Linked DNA regions of Homo sapiens: regions 1, 3 and 4 are each linked to region 2. The links are contacts of gene promoters, found by promoter capture Hi-C in blood cells and fetal thymus (Javierre and others, 2016). All regions are on one chromosome and are shown on one strand. The core of a region is centred on a gene start or on the middle of the fragment in contact, and the rest is flanking DNA. Distances in the headings are between cores, read along the strand shown.

Region 1 (3,381 bases), core at 103-2,602, 160 kb after region 2:
GCTCAAAAAGGTTTCTGGTTTCCCCTTCCTACCTCTTCCTGATCCACACACTTTATTTATTTATTTTTTGAGACAGATGCTCTGTTGCTCAGGCTGGAGTGCAGTGGTGCCATCTCGGCTCACTGTAACCTCTGCCTCCTGGGTTCAAGCGATTCTCCTGCCTCAGCCTCCCAAGTAGCTGGGATTATAGGCGTCACCATGCCTAGGTGATTTTTGTATTTTTAGTAGAGATAGGTTTCACCATGTTGGCCAGCTGGTCTCGAACCCCTGACCTCAAGTGATCCACCCGTCTTGGCCTCCCAAAGTGGGGGGATCACAGGCGTGAGCCACCACACCCGGCCGCACACACTTTACTCAGGCCGTTTGGTCACTGAATGTGGCAGTCCCAGAAGAGGCTTCATCTCTTCTTGGCTGCATCTTGGATAGTCCCTGAGACAGAAGTGTTGGAGGAGTTACAGAGACCCGAGGTCAGGAGATCGAGACCATCCTGGCTAACATGGTGAAACCCCGTCTCTACTAAAAATACAAAAAATTAGCCGGGCTTGGTGGCGGGCGCCTGTAGTCCCAGCTACTCAGGAGGCTGAGGCAGGAGAATGGCATGAACCCGGGAGGCGGAGCTTGCAGTGAGCCGAGATCACACCACTGCACTCCAGCCTGGGTGACAGAGCAAGACTCCGTCTCAAAAAAAAAGTACAATTTTGCCCGCTGACCATTGTTGGGAATGATGCATCTTTCTTTCCGCTGGACAGCCTGGTGGTCATGCCCTCCAGATGGCAGTTGAGTCCTGAGGGGGCCAAGTAGGGGATTCAAACTAATGCTGGTTTAGGCACCAGAATCCCCTTGTTGGACCGACATGGTGCTAGATCAGGAGTTGGCACACTATAGCCTGTGGGATACATCTGGCCTGTGACCTGTTTCTGTGTGGTCTATAAACTAACAAAGCTTTTCATATATTTTAAAGAATGTGTTGTTGTTGTTGTTGTTGTTGTTGTTTTTGAGATGGAATCTCGCTTTGTCGCCCAGGCTGGAGAGCAGTGGTATGATCTTGGCTCACTGCAAGCTCCGCCTCCTGGGTTCACGCCATTCTCCTGCCTCAGCTTCCCGAGTAGCTGGGATTAAAGGTGCCCGCCACCATGCCCGGCTAATTTTTGTATTTTTAGTAGAGACGGGGTTTCTCCATGTTGGCCGTCCTGGTCTTGAACTCCTGACCTCAAGTGATCCACCTGCTTCAGCCTCCCAAAGTGCTGGAATTACAGGCGTGAGCCACGGCTCAGCCAAGAATTGTTTAAAAAAAAAAAAAAAAAAAAAAAGCCAGGTGTGGTGGCTCACCTCTGTAATCCTAGCACTTGGGGAGGCTGAAGCAGAAGGATCACTTGAGCCCAGGAGATCAAGACTAGCCTGGGCTATGTGGTGAAAGCCTGTCTCTACAAAAAATTAAAAATTAGCTGGGTGTGCTGGTGCACGCCTGTAGTCCCAGCTACTCGGGAGGCTGAGGTGGGAGGATCGCTTGAGCCTGGGAGGTCGAAGCTGCAGTGAGATATTATTGTACCACAGCTCTCCAGCCTCAGTGACAGAGCAAGATCTTGTTTCAAAAAGAAAAAAGAAAAAGATGACTATGCCACAGAAAACAAATGCCCTACAAAACCCAAAATACTATTACCTGGTTCTTTCCAGAAAAAGTTGGCTCACTCCTGTGTTAGTTGAAACAACCTGCTGATATTACTTATGTGGCTTAACTGAGACAATGTAACGGTAATTCCAGCCAAGCTTAACAACAAAATCCAATGACTGTCTCTTCTCAGGTTGGGGAGGTAAGCTGTGGCATGCCCATTGTGGATGGGGGTTGCTTTTAGGCTCATCTGTTGTCACCCTGTAATTGTTTGTAAAGACATCAAAGATCAGATCAGTTTTTTTATTTTTAAATTTCTTTTTTTGGTATTTTAGCAGATCAGCCTAAAGTTCTCTGCTCTGCTTATAATGGACAATAGAGTCGCCTTAGACTATATCCTGGTTGTCCAAAATAAGATGTACTGGTCCTCTGGGACCAGTTTTTACTTTTTTTTTTTCTGAGATGGAGTTTCACTCTTGTTGCCCAGGCTGGAGTGTAATGGCATGATCTCAGCTCGTTGCAACCTCTGCCTCCCGGGTTCAAGCGATTCTTCTGCCTCAGCCTCCCAAGTAGCTGCGATTACAGGCATGTGGCACCATGCCCGGCTAATTTTGTATTTTTAGTAGAGACGTGGTTTCTCCATGTTGATCAGGCTGGTCTTGAACTCCTGACCTGAGGTGATTCCCCCTCCTCGGCCTCCCAAAGTACTGGGATTACAGACGTGAGCCACCACACCTGGACTTTTATTTTTTTTTTATTTTAATTTTATTGTATTAGAGACAGGGTCTTGCTCTGTCACCTAGGCTGGAGTACAGTGGCGTGATCTTGGCTCACTGCAACCTCAACCTTCTGGGTTCAGGGGATCCTCCCGCCTCAGCCTCCCAAGTAGCTAGGATTACAGGTGTGCCACCACTTCTGGCTAATATTGTTTTTGTATTTTTTGTAGAGATGGGCCTTCACTACGTTGCCCAGGCTGATCTTGAACTCCTAAGATTAAATGATCTGCCGGTCTCAGCCTCCCAAACTGCAGGGATTACAGGCATGAGCCACCTTGAGACTTATTCACAGTTGGCTGAGTCTAGGACCCTGGGGGACATAGTTGAGAGTTGAGGTCAATACTCAAGGTTGGCCTGATCTTGCTGTTGGGAGTCCCATCAAAAGTAGCCTTAATTAAAGGCCGAATGAGACAAATTGAAGTGATTTTTTTTTTTTTTTTTGAGATGGAGTCTCTGTGGCCCAGGCTGGAGTGCAATGGCACAATCTTGGCTCATTGCAACCTCTGCCTCCCAGGTTTAAGCGATTCTTCTGCCTCAGCCTCCCAAGTAGCTGGGATTACAGGCACCTACCACGACACCTGGCTGTTTTTTTGTATTTTTAGTAGAGAAAGAGTTGCCCCATGTTGGCCAGGCTAGTTTCAAACTCCTGACCTCAAGTGATTTCAGCCTCCCAAAGTGCTGGGATTACAGGTGTGAGCCACCATGCCTGGCCTGAAGTGATTTTATTCCAGCCTGTTAGTTAGATGAATCAGAGTGGCTGATGGGTGTCAGAGTCATTTGAAAACTTGCCAGAAGCTAAGATGATGCGGGTCTGGGGGTGGGTATTGCTGTGTTGGGAGACTGTCCTCCACAGTTGTCTTGTGTTTCCTGCATGTTGTGTGGGGTGTGCATGGCTGCAAGGCCCTGGTCACTGTTTCTTCAGGGTTGTTTACGCAGCTGGCAAACTTGAGCAATGAGGCAACCCCTCCCCTCTCACAAAGAGAGGCTTGCTTGTTG
Region 2 (3,658 bases), core at 1-2,500:
CGCTGCCCCTCTGAGGCAGGCTTCAGTTTCCCTGTGTGTGAAATTGACCTGGCGCTGGGAGAGGCTGGTGGAGGCGCGGATTTTGCAGTTTCCCTACAACATTCTGGAAGCCTGTGGTTCTGGGAAAGGGTGGCGTGGAGAAGACTGGGAAACAGTCAGTAGTTACCAGACCTGTCAGCACCTCCTCCGCCTCGGAGCTCTGGGGCTGGGAGTCCCCAGGCTTCGGGGGGCCCCTGTGGAGGACACAGGTGGCCCCCTCCTTCCTGACATCTCAGGAGAGGGAGGGGGCAACCACCTAGGGGAAGAAAAGAATAGACAGGTTATAGAGGCAGGTGGGGAAGGGGCCAAATCCCTGAACAACCCCTTCCCAGAGTTCCTCTTCAAGTGCAGGGTACCCAAGAGTCAAGGCCCCGCCCCCTTTCCAGAGGCCCCTTTTCTACCCAGGTGATGGCTCCTGGCTGGGATGGGAAGCAGATGGAGGGAGGGGAAGGGAGAATAGGGGAAGGGAGAGGCAGTGGATGAAGGAGGCTGGAAGAGATTACATCCCCCTCGGCCCATTCATCTCCCAGATGGGGCGGAACTGGCCTGGACACCCGGGTCCCTGAGGGCCCACACTCAAGAAGCCCTGGTTCCCCAAGCTGCTTCCTGGAATGTTCCCTCCTCACAGGACAGGCCAGGGCCCGCCCAAGACTTCTGCACATACCTGGAGTGGCTGCCTGCCCTGGCTCCTCGGTACAGGAAAGGGGAAGGGTGGAGAGTGAAAGGAGCCCAGGCTGACCCAACCAGGACCGCCTTCTCCCTCAGACCGAGTAGTGCAGACCCCAGGGCCTCCACCTTCAGACCCAGGAGTTCAGATCCCCAGCGCCCTCCTCCCTCAGACCCAGGAGTAGTCCAGGCCCCCAGCGCCCTCCTCTCTCAGACCCAGAAGTCCAGGCCCCCAGCACCCTTCTCCCTCAGACCCAGGAGGAGTCCAGGCCCAGGCCCCCAGCACCCTTCTCCCTCAGACCCTGGAGTCCAGGTCCCCAGCGCCCTCCTCCTTCAGACCCAGGAGTCCATGCCCCCAGCGCCCTTCTCCCTCAGACCCAGGAATCCAGGCCCCCAGTGCCCTCCTCTCTCAGACCCAGGAGTTCTGGAATTCAGGCCCCTCCTTCTCGGATACTAAGAAATGCAGACTCCGGGTTCCTCATCCTCCAGATTTGGGTTGGGGGTTCCGGACTCCGAGACCCCTCAGGGGAAACCGGCTGCATATCTGGGACACTTCCCTCTTGCCTCAGTTTCCTCCGCCAAGCCCCGCCCCGGTCGGCCCCGCCCCCGTCCCTCCCCACCCGAGGGCAGGGCGACCAGGACGCCGGAATCCCGAGGGAGGAGGAGTGGAGATCTTACCTGGGGCGCCCTCTTCGGCTCCCGCGGCTGCCCTCCGCCCGGCAGCAGCTCCTCCTCCTGCTCGCTGGCTGCAGGGACGCTCGCTGGCCCGCCGGGTGCTAGCTGCTCACGCTCCGCAGGGCCCGGGTCGGGGGCGGGGGCGGGGCGGCGCCGGGCGGCAGAGGAGGGGCCGGGGGATCCTGCCTTGCACTCGCGTGCCGGGACCTTGGAAGCCAGGCCTGGCTCGTTCAACGCGGCCGCCTTGGTCACAGGAGTCCCAGTTTCCAGCTGCCTCCTCCTTTGGACCTAGCAGTCCAGGCCCCCAGCCCCTCCTCCCTTCAGACCCAGGAGTCCAGGCATCCGGCCCCTCCTCCCTCAGACCCAGGACTTGCGACCCCAGCCACCTCTCCCCCCAGCCCCAGGCGCCTGAGTACTAAGCCCACAGTTCCCCCCACCACCTCCCAACCCCGCCCCGTCTCAGACTCAGGAGTCCAGCCCCCAGCCTCCTCCTCCATTAGCCCCAGGAGTCTGGGCCTGAGATTCCTTTGCCGTCTTTTGCCAATTGCGTGTCAATCCCGGGGCAGATTCCCACCCTCTGCTCTCCTCCCCACTTCCCAGGAGCTCCACGCCAGACATTAACCAGCTGGGCTTGGGCAGTGATAAGGCCCCAGGCCCGGGGAGACAGTGGATGTGGGGGCTCCCGCATACTCCTCTCCCCTGGAATTTCCTGGCTGGGGACCGGGGAGAAGGTCTTGTCCTGAGCTCAGATAAGAGACGTGCAAGGTATCATAGGACCAGAGATAGACAGATGTGTCTTAAGAACAATCAGCTACCTTGAGAAATGGTGCGCGGTGACATGAAGGGAGAGATAGGGAGAAGACATGGAAAAGTGGGGAGAGACCAAAAGAAAGAGGGGGACCGAGACTAGAGAGAGTGGGGGAGGGCAGGAGCCCAGAGAGAAGACAGAGGCCCAGAGAGCGTGAGGGCAGACCCCCCCACCCCCCCGAGAAGGGGACAGAGCCCCTGAGAGACCCTGAGAAAGACAGGGATGGGACCGGAGCCGGAGTGTCTCAGGACAGTCATGAGGGCAGCGGGGCTCCTCACCCCACCACACCTCTACCCTGAGACTCCGCTCCCCTCCGCCTGCGCTATTTTCAGAAGGAAAACTGACACCTGCCTCGAGGGTCATCCCACACCCCCTCAGCCTAAATATAGCATGGCAAGGTGGCAGGAGGGTGTCCCCGGTTAGGGTGTTTCCTGCTCCTCACCATCCCAGCCAAGGCAACACACAAGGCCGCTCCAGTTATTTATTGGGGGTGGGGGGAAGGGCCACTTCCCAGGCTTTGGGTGTGCATTCAGGTCACCTCTCCGGCTTCTCCACCCTTCCCCTGTTCCTAAACAGCCAATACATCCTGCCGCATAGCAGGAGGACTCTAGCTTCTAGCTTCTAGCTTCTAGTCCTGGAGGGGATAGTAGGGATGAGGTTTCCAAACAGAGTGACTGGGAAACAGTCTCTGTCCCCCTATCTCCAGGTCTCTGTTCCCCTCCCTCTGGATTTCTGTCTCCCTCCAACTCTGGGTCTGTCCTTCTCTCTCTGAGTCTCTGTCCCCCTCTCTCTCTGGGTCTCTGTCCCTCTCTCTCTGGGTCTCTGTCCCCCTCTCTCTCTGGGTCTCTGTCCCCTTCTGTCTGTGGGTCTCTGTCCCTCTCTCTCTGGGTCTCTGTCCCCCTCTCTCTCTGGGTCTCTGTCCCCTTCACTCTCTGGGTCTCTGTCTCTCTCTCTGTCTCTGGATCTCTGTCCCCCCTCTCTCTGGGTCTCTGTTCCCCCCCAGGTCTCTGTCCCCCCTTCTCTCTGGGTCTCTGTCCCCCTCTTTCTAGGTCCCAGTTTTCTTCTCTCTGGATATCTGTCCACCCTCTCTGGGTCCCAGTCTCCTTCTTGCTGAGCCTCTTGCATCCTCTCTCTTGGGGTCACTGTCTGCTTCTCTTTCCCCTCGTGGGGGTCTCTGTTCCCGCTCCCGGCCATCTGCCCTCTTCCCCCTTGCCCTTGGATTTCTCTCTTTTGCTCTGTGCCTCTCCTCCCTCCTGGCCTCAGTTCCTGTCTGTGTCTCCTCTTTAGGTCTCTGTGCTGGAGTCCAACCTGTCTCTTGTCACTGTGAGGTCCGTCTCCATTCTGTCCCTAAATCTGGCTTTCTCTCCATTTCAGAGAGAAGTGACTACCTAAAGCTTCTATTAATTTCAACCATTATCAAACTCCTCTCACCATCTGTACCTTCTCTTTAGCTGTATGAAAAGGTGCTCA
Region 3 (3,430 bases), core at 931-3,430, 180 kb after region 2:
GAGTGCGGTGGCACGATCTCGGCTCACTGCAAGGTCCCGGGTTCACGCCATTCTCCTGCCTCAGCCTCCCGAGTAGCTGGGACTACAGGCACCCGCCACCACACCCGGCTCATTTTTTTGTATTTTTAGTAGAGACGGGGTTTCACTGTGTTAGCCAGGATGGTCTCGATCTCCTGACCCCGTGATCCGCCTGCCTCGGCCTCCCAAAGTGCTGGGATTACAGACATGAGCCAGCGTGCCTGGCCCCGGCTATTTTTTTTTTTCCTTTAGACAGTCTTGCTCTGTCACCCAGGCTGGAGTGCAGGGGCGTGATGACAGCTCACTGCAGCCTTGGCCTCCCGGGCCCAAGCGATCCTCACGCCCAGCATCTTGAGTAGCTGGGACCACAGGCATGTGCCACCATGACCAGCTAATTTTTTTTTTTTTTTTGTAGAGACACGGTCTCCTTATGTTGCCCAGACTAGTCTCAAACCCCTGAGCTCAAGCGATCTTCCTGTCTTGGCCTCCCAACGTGTTGGGATTACAGGCGTGAGCCACCACACCTGGCCAAAACTCAGTTTTTATTGAGCTATAATTTACAGACAACAAGCACAGATACTAAATGTATACTTTAATGAGTTTTGACAAATGACCCCTGTCACCAATGCCCCAATTTCCGTCACTCCAGAGAGTTACTTTGGGTTCCTTTCTCTTCACCCCAGAAGCAATGACTGATTTCCATCACTACATATAAGTCTGACCTGTTCTTGGGTTTCATAGATAATAGATTCACACAATACATAGACATTTGTGTCTGGCCTGTTACATTTAATATAGAACATCTTTGCTAAGCCCGAGGTCATAAAGATATTCTATGTTTTCTTCCGGAAGTTTCTAGTTTTGGCTTTTGAATTTAGGTCTTTGGTTCCTGTTAATTTGGGGTGGGGGTATGGTATGTGGCAGGAATATGTTTATATTTTTCTATATGGCTATACAGTAGTTCTAGCCCTGTTTGTTAAAAAGACTTTCCCTTACCCATTGAATTGCTGTGATATCTTTACTGAACATCAATTGGTCATATGTGTATAGGTGGATTTCTGTTCTGTTCTATTGATCTTTTGGTTTATCTTTAGGCTAATATAACACTGCCCTGACTACTGTAGCTTTATAGTAAATCTTGAAATTCGATAGTATGAGTCTCCAACGTGTTCTTTCTCAAGATTGTTTGGACTACTTTAGGTCTTTTGCATTTTTTTTTTTTTTTTTTTTTTGAGATGGAGTCTTGCTCCATTGCCCAGGCTGGAGTGCAGTGGTGTGATCTCAGGTCATTGCAACCTCCCTGCCTACTGAGTTCAAGCAATTCTCCTGCCTCAGCCTCCTAAGTGAAATTACAGGCACCCGATACCACGCCTGGCTAATTATTTTTTAGTAGAGATGGGGTTTCCTCATGTTGGCCAGGCTGGTCTCAAACTCCTGACCTCAGGTGATCCTCCTGCCTTGGCCTCCCAAAGTGCTGGGATGACCGGCATAAGCCACTACACCCGGCCGGTCCTTTGCATTTTCATGTACATTTTAGAATCAGCTTGTCAATTCCTCAACAAACCTGGCTGAGATCTGAATTGCCATTGTGTTGAATCTGTAGATCAATTTGGGGAGAACTGATATCTTGTTTTTTGAGACAGAGTCTTACTCTGTTACCCATGCAGGAGTGCAGTGGTGCGATCTCGGCTCACTGCAGCCTCTGCCTCGCAGGCTCAAGCGATTCTCCTACCTCAGCCTCCTGAGTAGCTGGGATTACAGGTGTGTACCACCATGCCCAGCTAATTTTTTTGTATTTTTAGTAGAGACAGGGTTTCACCATGTTGGCCAGGCTGGTCTCAAACTGCTGAGCTCAAGTAATCCACCCACCTCGGCCTCCCGAAGTGCTGGGATTACAGGCGTGAGCCACCACGCCCGGCCTACACCAATTCTTTGAATTCATAAACAAATATTTCCATTTATTTAGGTTTTTCTCTCAAAAATACCTTGTAGTTTTCAGTATAGAGATTTTTGAATATCTTTTGTTAAATATAGTCTTAGCATTTGATTTTTGAGGCTATTGTAAATGGTTTTGTTTTTAAAATTTCACTTAACTATGGTTTGTTGCTAGTATGCAGAAATGTGATTATTTTTGTATATTGGCTTTTATTTTTGTGACTTTCCTAAGTGCACTTATTCTAGTAGCTTTTTATTTTTGTAGATTCCCTAGGATTTCCTAATTACATGCTTATGACATCTGTGAATAAAGACAGTTTTACTTCTTCCTAGCCAGTTTCTATGCTTTTTATATCTTTTTCTTGCCTTCTTTCACTGGCTAGGAACTTCACTATAGTGTTGAACAGAAGTGGTGTAAAGGGATTTCCCTTCCCTGTTTTCAGTATTGGGGAAAGTATTCAGTATTTCATCATTTAGTATGATGTTAGCTGTAGCTTTTGTCATTGTTGTTAATATCCTTAACACAATGAATGATTCTCAACCGAGGGTGATTTCCCACCTCTTCCAGGGACATTTGGTAATGTCATATGACTTTTTTTTTTTTTTTTTTTTTTTTTTTTTTGAGACTGAGTCTCGCTCTATCACTCAGGCTGGAGTGCAGTGGCGTGATCTCGGCTCACTGCAAACTCCGCCTCCCGGGTTCACGCCATTCTCCTGCCTCAGCCTCCTGAGTAGCTGGGACTACAGGCGCCCGCCACCACGCCTGGCTAATTTTTTGTATTTTTAGTAGAGACAGGGTTTCACCATGTTAGCCAGGATGGTCTCGATCTCCTGACCTCATGATCCGCCCACCTCGGCCTCCCAAAGTGCTGGTATTACAGGCGTGAGCCACTGCACTTGGCCTGTCATGTGACATTTTTCATTGTCACAAACAGCTGAGTGGGGAGCGTTGATGCTGGCATCTTGAGGGTGAAGGCTAGGAACACTGCCAAGCATTCTAGGATGCACAGCACAGCCTCTCCCCACCCCAGCAAAGAATTTTCTGGGCAAAATCCCCATCATGTTCAGGTAGAGAATCTCTGCCCAGCACATGGAGGAAGTTCTGTTGTATTTCTAGTTTGTTGCAGGTTTTTTTTCCTCCAATAATAGGTGTTGAATTTTGTCAAATGGTTCTTCCCTTTAATCTATTAATGTAATAAGTTACATTAATTTCTGGGATAAAACCACTTGCTTATACTGTATCCACTTTGTTTGTGGATTAAATTTGCTAATATACTTTGAGACAGTCTCTCGTTCTGTCGCCCAGGCTGGAGGGCGTGATCTTAGCTCACTGCAACCTCCGCCTCCTGGGTTCAAGCTATTCTCCTGCCTCAGCCTCCCGAGTAGCTGGGATTATAGGCGCCTGCCACCACGCCCGGCTAATTTTTATATTTTTAGTAGAGATGGGGTTTCATCATGTTAGCCAGGCTGGTCTCAA
Region 4 (3,542 bases), core at 477-2,976, 230 kb after region 2:
GATGATTTAGTGTATCTGGCAGAAGAAATTTCTAAGCAGCAAAGTATTCAGAAGGTGACTTGCGTGCTGTTAAAAGCATTCCGTTTTAAAAGGGAAACAGCATAAAAGTTCAGAAAATTTGCAGCCTGATGATGCAGTGGAAAAGAAAAATCCATTTTTGAGGAGAAATTCAAGCCAGCTGCAGAAATTTGCATGAGTAGCAAGGAGCCTAATGTTAATCCCTTAGACCATGGGGAAAATGTCTCCAGGCCATATCAGAGACATTCATGGCAGCCCCTCCCATCACAGGCCCAGAGGCCCAGGAGGAAAAAGTGGTTTTGTGGGCCAGGCCCAGGGTCCCCATGCAGTGTGCAGCCTAGGGACTTGGTGCCCTGTGTCCCAGCCACTCCAGCCATGGCTGAAAGGGGCCAACGTACAGCTCGGGCTGTGGCTTCAGAGAGTAGAAGCCCCAAGCCTTGGCAGCTTCCACGTGATGTTGAGCCTGCGGGTGCACAGAAGTCAAGAATTGAGGTTTGGGAACCTCCGCCTAGATCTCAGAAGATATATGGAAATGCATGGATGTCCAGGCAAAAGTTTTCTGTAGGGGCAGAGCCCTCATGCAGAACCTCTGCCAGGGAGGGAAATGCAGAAGGGAAACGTGGGGTCAGAGCCCTCACACAGAGTCAGAGTCCCTACTGGGGCACTGCCTAGTGGAGCTGTGAGAAGAGGGCCACTGTCCTCCAGACCCCAGAATGGTAGAACCACTGACAGCTTGCACCCTGAGCTTGGAAAAGCCACACTCAACACCAGCCCGTGAAAGCAGCTGGAAGGGGGACTGTACCCTGCAAAGCCACGAGGTGGAGCTGCCTAAGACCATGGGAACCCACCTTTTGCATCAGCATGACCTGGATGTGAGATCTGGAGTCAAAGGAGATCATTATGGAGCTTTAAAATTTGACTCCCCTGCTAGATTTTGGACTTGCATGGGCCCTGTAACCCCTTTGTTTTGGCCAATTTCTCTCATTTGGAATGGCTGTATTTACCTGATACCAGTACCCCCATTGTATCTAGGAAGTAACTAGCTTGTTTTTGATTTTACAGGCTCATAGGTGGAAGGGACTTGCCTTGTCTCAGATGACACTCTGGACTTTTGGATTAATGCTGAAATGAGTTGAGACATTGGGGGACTGTTGGGAAGGCATGATTGCTTTTGAAATGTGAGGACATGAGATTTGGAGGGGCCAGGGGCAGAATGATATGGTTTCACTGTGTCTCCATTTAAATATAAACTTCAATTATATCTCCCAGAATTCCCACGTGTTATGGGAGGGAACCAGGGGAGGTAATTGAATCATGGGGGCTGGTCTTTTCCATCCTAATCTCGTGATAGTGAATAAGTCTCATGAGATCTAATGGGTTTATCAGGGGTTTCCACTTTTGCTTCTTCCTCATTTTTTTCTCTTGCTGCCATCATGTAAGAAATGCCTTTCACCTCCCACCATGATTGAGGCCTCCCCAACCATGTGGAACTGTAAGTCCAGTTAAACCTCTTTTTGTTCCCAGTTTCAGGTATGTCTTTATTAGCAGTGTGAAAATGAACTAATACAGACTGGAAGCCTTGTGACAGGAAAACTGAACATCTGAGACATCTATAGGAAAAAAAGATCTGCTTACATCCAGTCCTTGGAGTTCCAGTAGACTGATTTATTCACCAACAGCATTGCTCCTCCAGCTCCATTCCAGGAGACAGGCACCCCAGAAGTAGCAGGACTGGTAGACATCACTAGTATTGTATATGTGTTGTGCATGTATGTGTGTTGAGGAAGAGGATGGGGAAAACAATGATGGTGGTCACCAGGTAAGATGGGACCCAGGAAGGGATTGCAAGTCCAGGCCCCATGAACACCCCCAAAGAATGCCCCTCCTCTTGGAAATAAAAGTGGTTCTGGATCCAGGGAGATCAACAGTTGCAAGCTGATATTAAGAGTTGTCTATTGGATCTGTTCTAAGGGATATGTTATGTGAAGCCAAATTAATGAAGTTAGGAAGTCACATTACAAGTTGATGGGTACTTTGTTTCATCAACTTGTAGAATTTCTTCCTTTTGAACCTCTTTACTGGGTGTTAGCTGGTGACTTAGGGGTAGGGATGTGGAGGCTGTCATAGGCCCGTCTCCGCTCTTGGGCCTGAAGGGAATCCTATGTATGCGGCAGTATACAAAGTATGCAGGGATGGGGAGGATGACAATGGCAAAAAGGGTGATCATCAAGAGCAGTGCCCACGGTGGGTATGGTCGAAGCACCTCTTTTGACTGTGGAGAGATGGGAAAAGGGTTCAGAATATCAAAATCCCCAAGAGAAAAGGAAGAGTTGTGGAGGGGAAGGATGGGTGGGGAACCAAAGCAGAAAACCCATGAGTCTTCGGGCAGTAAGAGAATGAGATGACTGGGTTCTTTCACCCAGAGTGAATTGAAAGGTCTGGCCCCTACTCCCAAAGGGGTTCTGGGTCCTGGGGGAGGCTCACGGTGCTTGAGTCCCAGGACATGTAGGTGATCGGCTTCATACAAAGATGAACCATCATGGTCACAAAGATGATTAGCAGCACAACTGGACACAGATGGGGCCACAGCCAACCAAAGATGGGAGAGATGGGGTGGCCCAACAGGATCGTCAGGTCTGCAAGGAACCTGGAGAAGGGCCACCAGAGTGTGGGATGCCCAGTTAGGCCTCACCACCTTGGAGGCAGGGCCAGCCCAACCTTGGCATCTTTCAAACATTCTATTGTATCTCTAATCTCCTGTTTCATCTCAAGTCTTGTCCTCTCTCATCTTCCCCCTAGTCAGTCTGTCTTCTATCCTAACCCAAGAAACTTTTCCAAACACCCCTCTCCTGCTCAAGAACTTTCCATGGGTATCCAATGGCCTCAGGAGAAAGGCCAAGTCTCTTTCATTCATCCCATAAATATGAGAATGTCTATGATGTGCCAGGAACTCTTCTAAGTGCTGGATATCCAGCAGTGAACAACACAGATAAAATAAAGTGGCATTTGGCCCTTGGTGAACTTATCTAGTTTATTTCAGCCACCTATCCAGTCTCCTTTAGTACATATTCTCAATCTCAATAAATATACAAGTGGGGTCTTTTGGTCTAGGGTGCCCATCACCCTATCTCCACCTATTCATCTGTCCAGGCTCTGCTCAAGCATCCTCTTCTCTAGGCCACCTTCCCTAACTCTCCAGTCTTCCTTAACTAACCATCTATGCCCCCGGAGTTTCCCTGGCTACCTCTACTATAGACTTACCACCGGGTACTGGGATTTTCTGCTTATATACGTCTTTCTCTTTGGACTCTGAGCTCTTTGAGAAGAGTATCTCAATGTAAGTCATTCATATCCCAGTACCACAAGGCTTTCCTGACACAAAGTCTCAAGAAAATGTTTGTTGGGTGAGTTAATAAATGAGTCCATAAGTGAGCAAACTGACTCCAAGAACCACTATCAGATGAAAATGCTGAGGCTTTCACCCCTGAATTATACCAGGAACTCTTCTAAGTGCTGGATATCCA

The links. Contacts are between HindIII fragments. The CHiCAGO score rates a contact against its expected background, and 5 or more counts as called.
Region 1: a contact is called between a fragment that was not itself captured here and the fragment with the promoter of NTF4 in region 2, in 3 of 17 cell types (endothelial precursors, M0 macrophages and erythroblasts). The highest score is 7.7, in endothelial precursors.
Region 3: a fragment that was not itself captured here is called in contact with the fragment with the promoter of NTF4 in region 2 in 2 of 17 cell types (M2 macrophages and erythroblasts); the score reaches 5.8 in M2 macrophages.
Region 4: a contact is called between a fragment that was not itself captured here and the fragment with the promoter of NTF4 in region 2, in 3 of 17 cell types (erythroblasts, M1 macrophages and endothelial precursors). The highest score is 5.9, in erythroblasts.

Annotation. Positions count from the first base shown.
Region 1 is chr19:49,226,364-49,229,744 of GRCh38, forward strand. All of the region lies in intron 1 of LOC107985340 (a long non-coding RNA gene), which reads left to right. Among named protein-coding and RNA genes, the nearest start is that of TRPM4, 70 kb to the left of the region's middle. The HindIII fragment of the contact is 825 bases long and covers 941-1,765 here.
Region 2 is chr19:49,063,568-49,067,225 of GRCh38, forward strand. It overlaps NTF4 (neurotrophin 4), which reads right to left and starts at 1,251. Exons shown (of 2, transcript NM_006179.5): 1 at 172-1,251. The HindIII fragment of the contact is 7,079 bases long and covers 1-3,580 here.
Region 3 is chr19:49,245,484-49,248,913 of GRCh38, forward strand. All of the region lies in intron 2 of LOC107985340 (a long non-coding RNA gene), which reads left to right. Among named protein-coding and RNA genes, the nearest start is that of MIR4324, 62 kb to the right of the region's middle. The HindIII fragment of the contact is 8,311 bases long and covers 1-3,430 here.
Region 4 is chr19:49,288,103-49,291,644 of GRCh38, forward strand. SLC6A16 (solute carrier family 6 member 16) reads right to left here. Exons shown (of 12, transcript NM_014037.3): 11 at 2,503-2,665; 12 at 1,536-2,290. The coding sequence ends at 2,021. Among named protein-coding and RNA genes, the nearest start is that of MIR4324, 19 kb to the right of the region's middle. The HindIII fragment of the contact is 6,288 bases long and covers 1-3,542 here.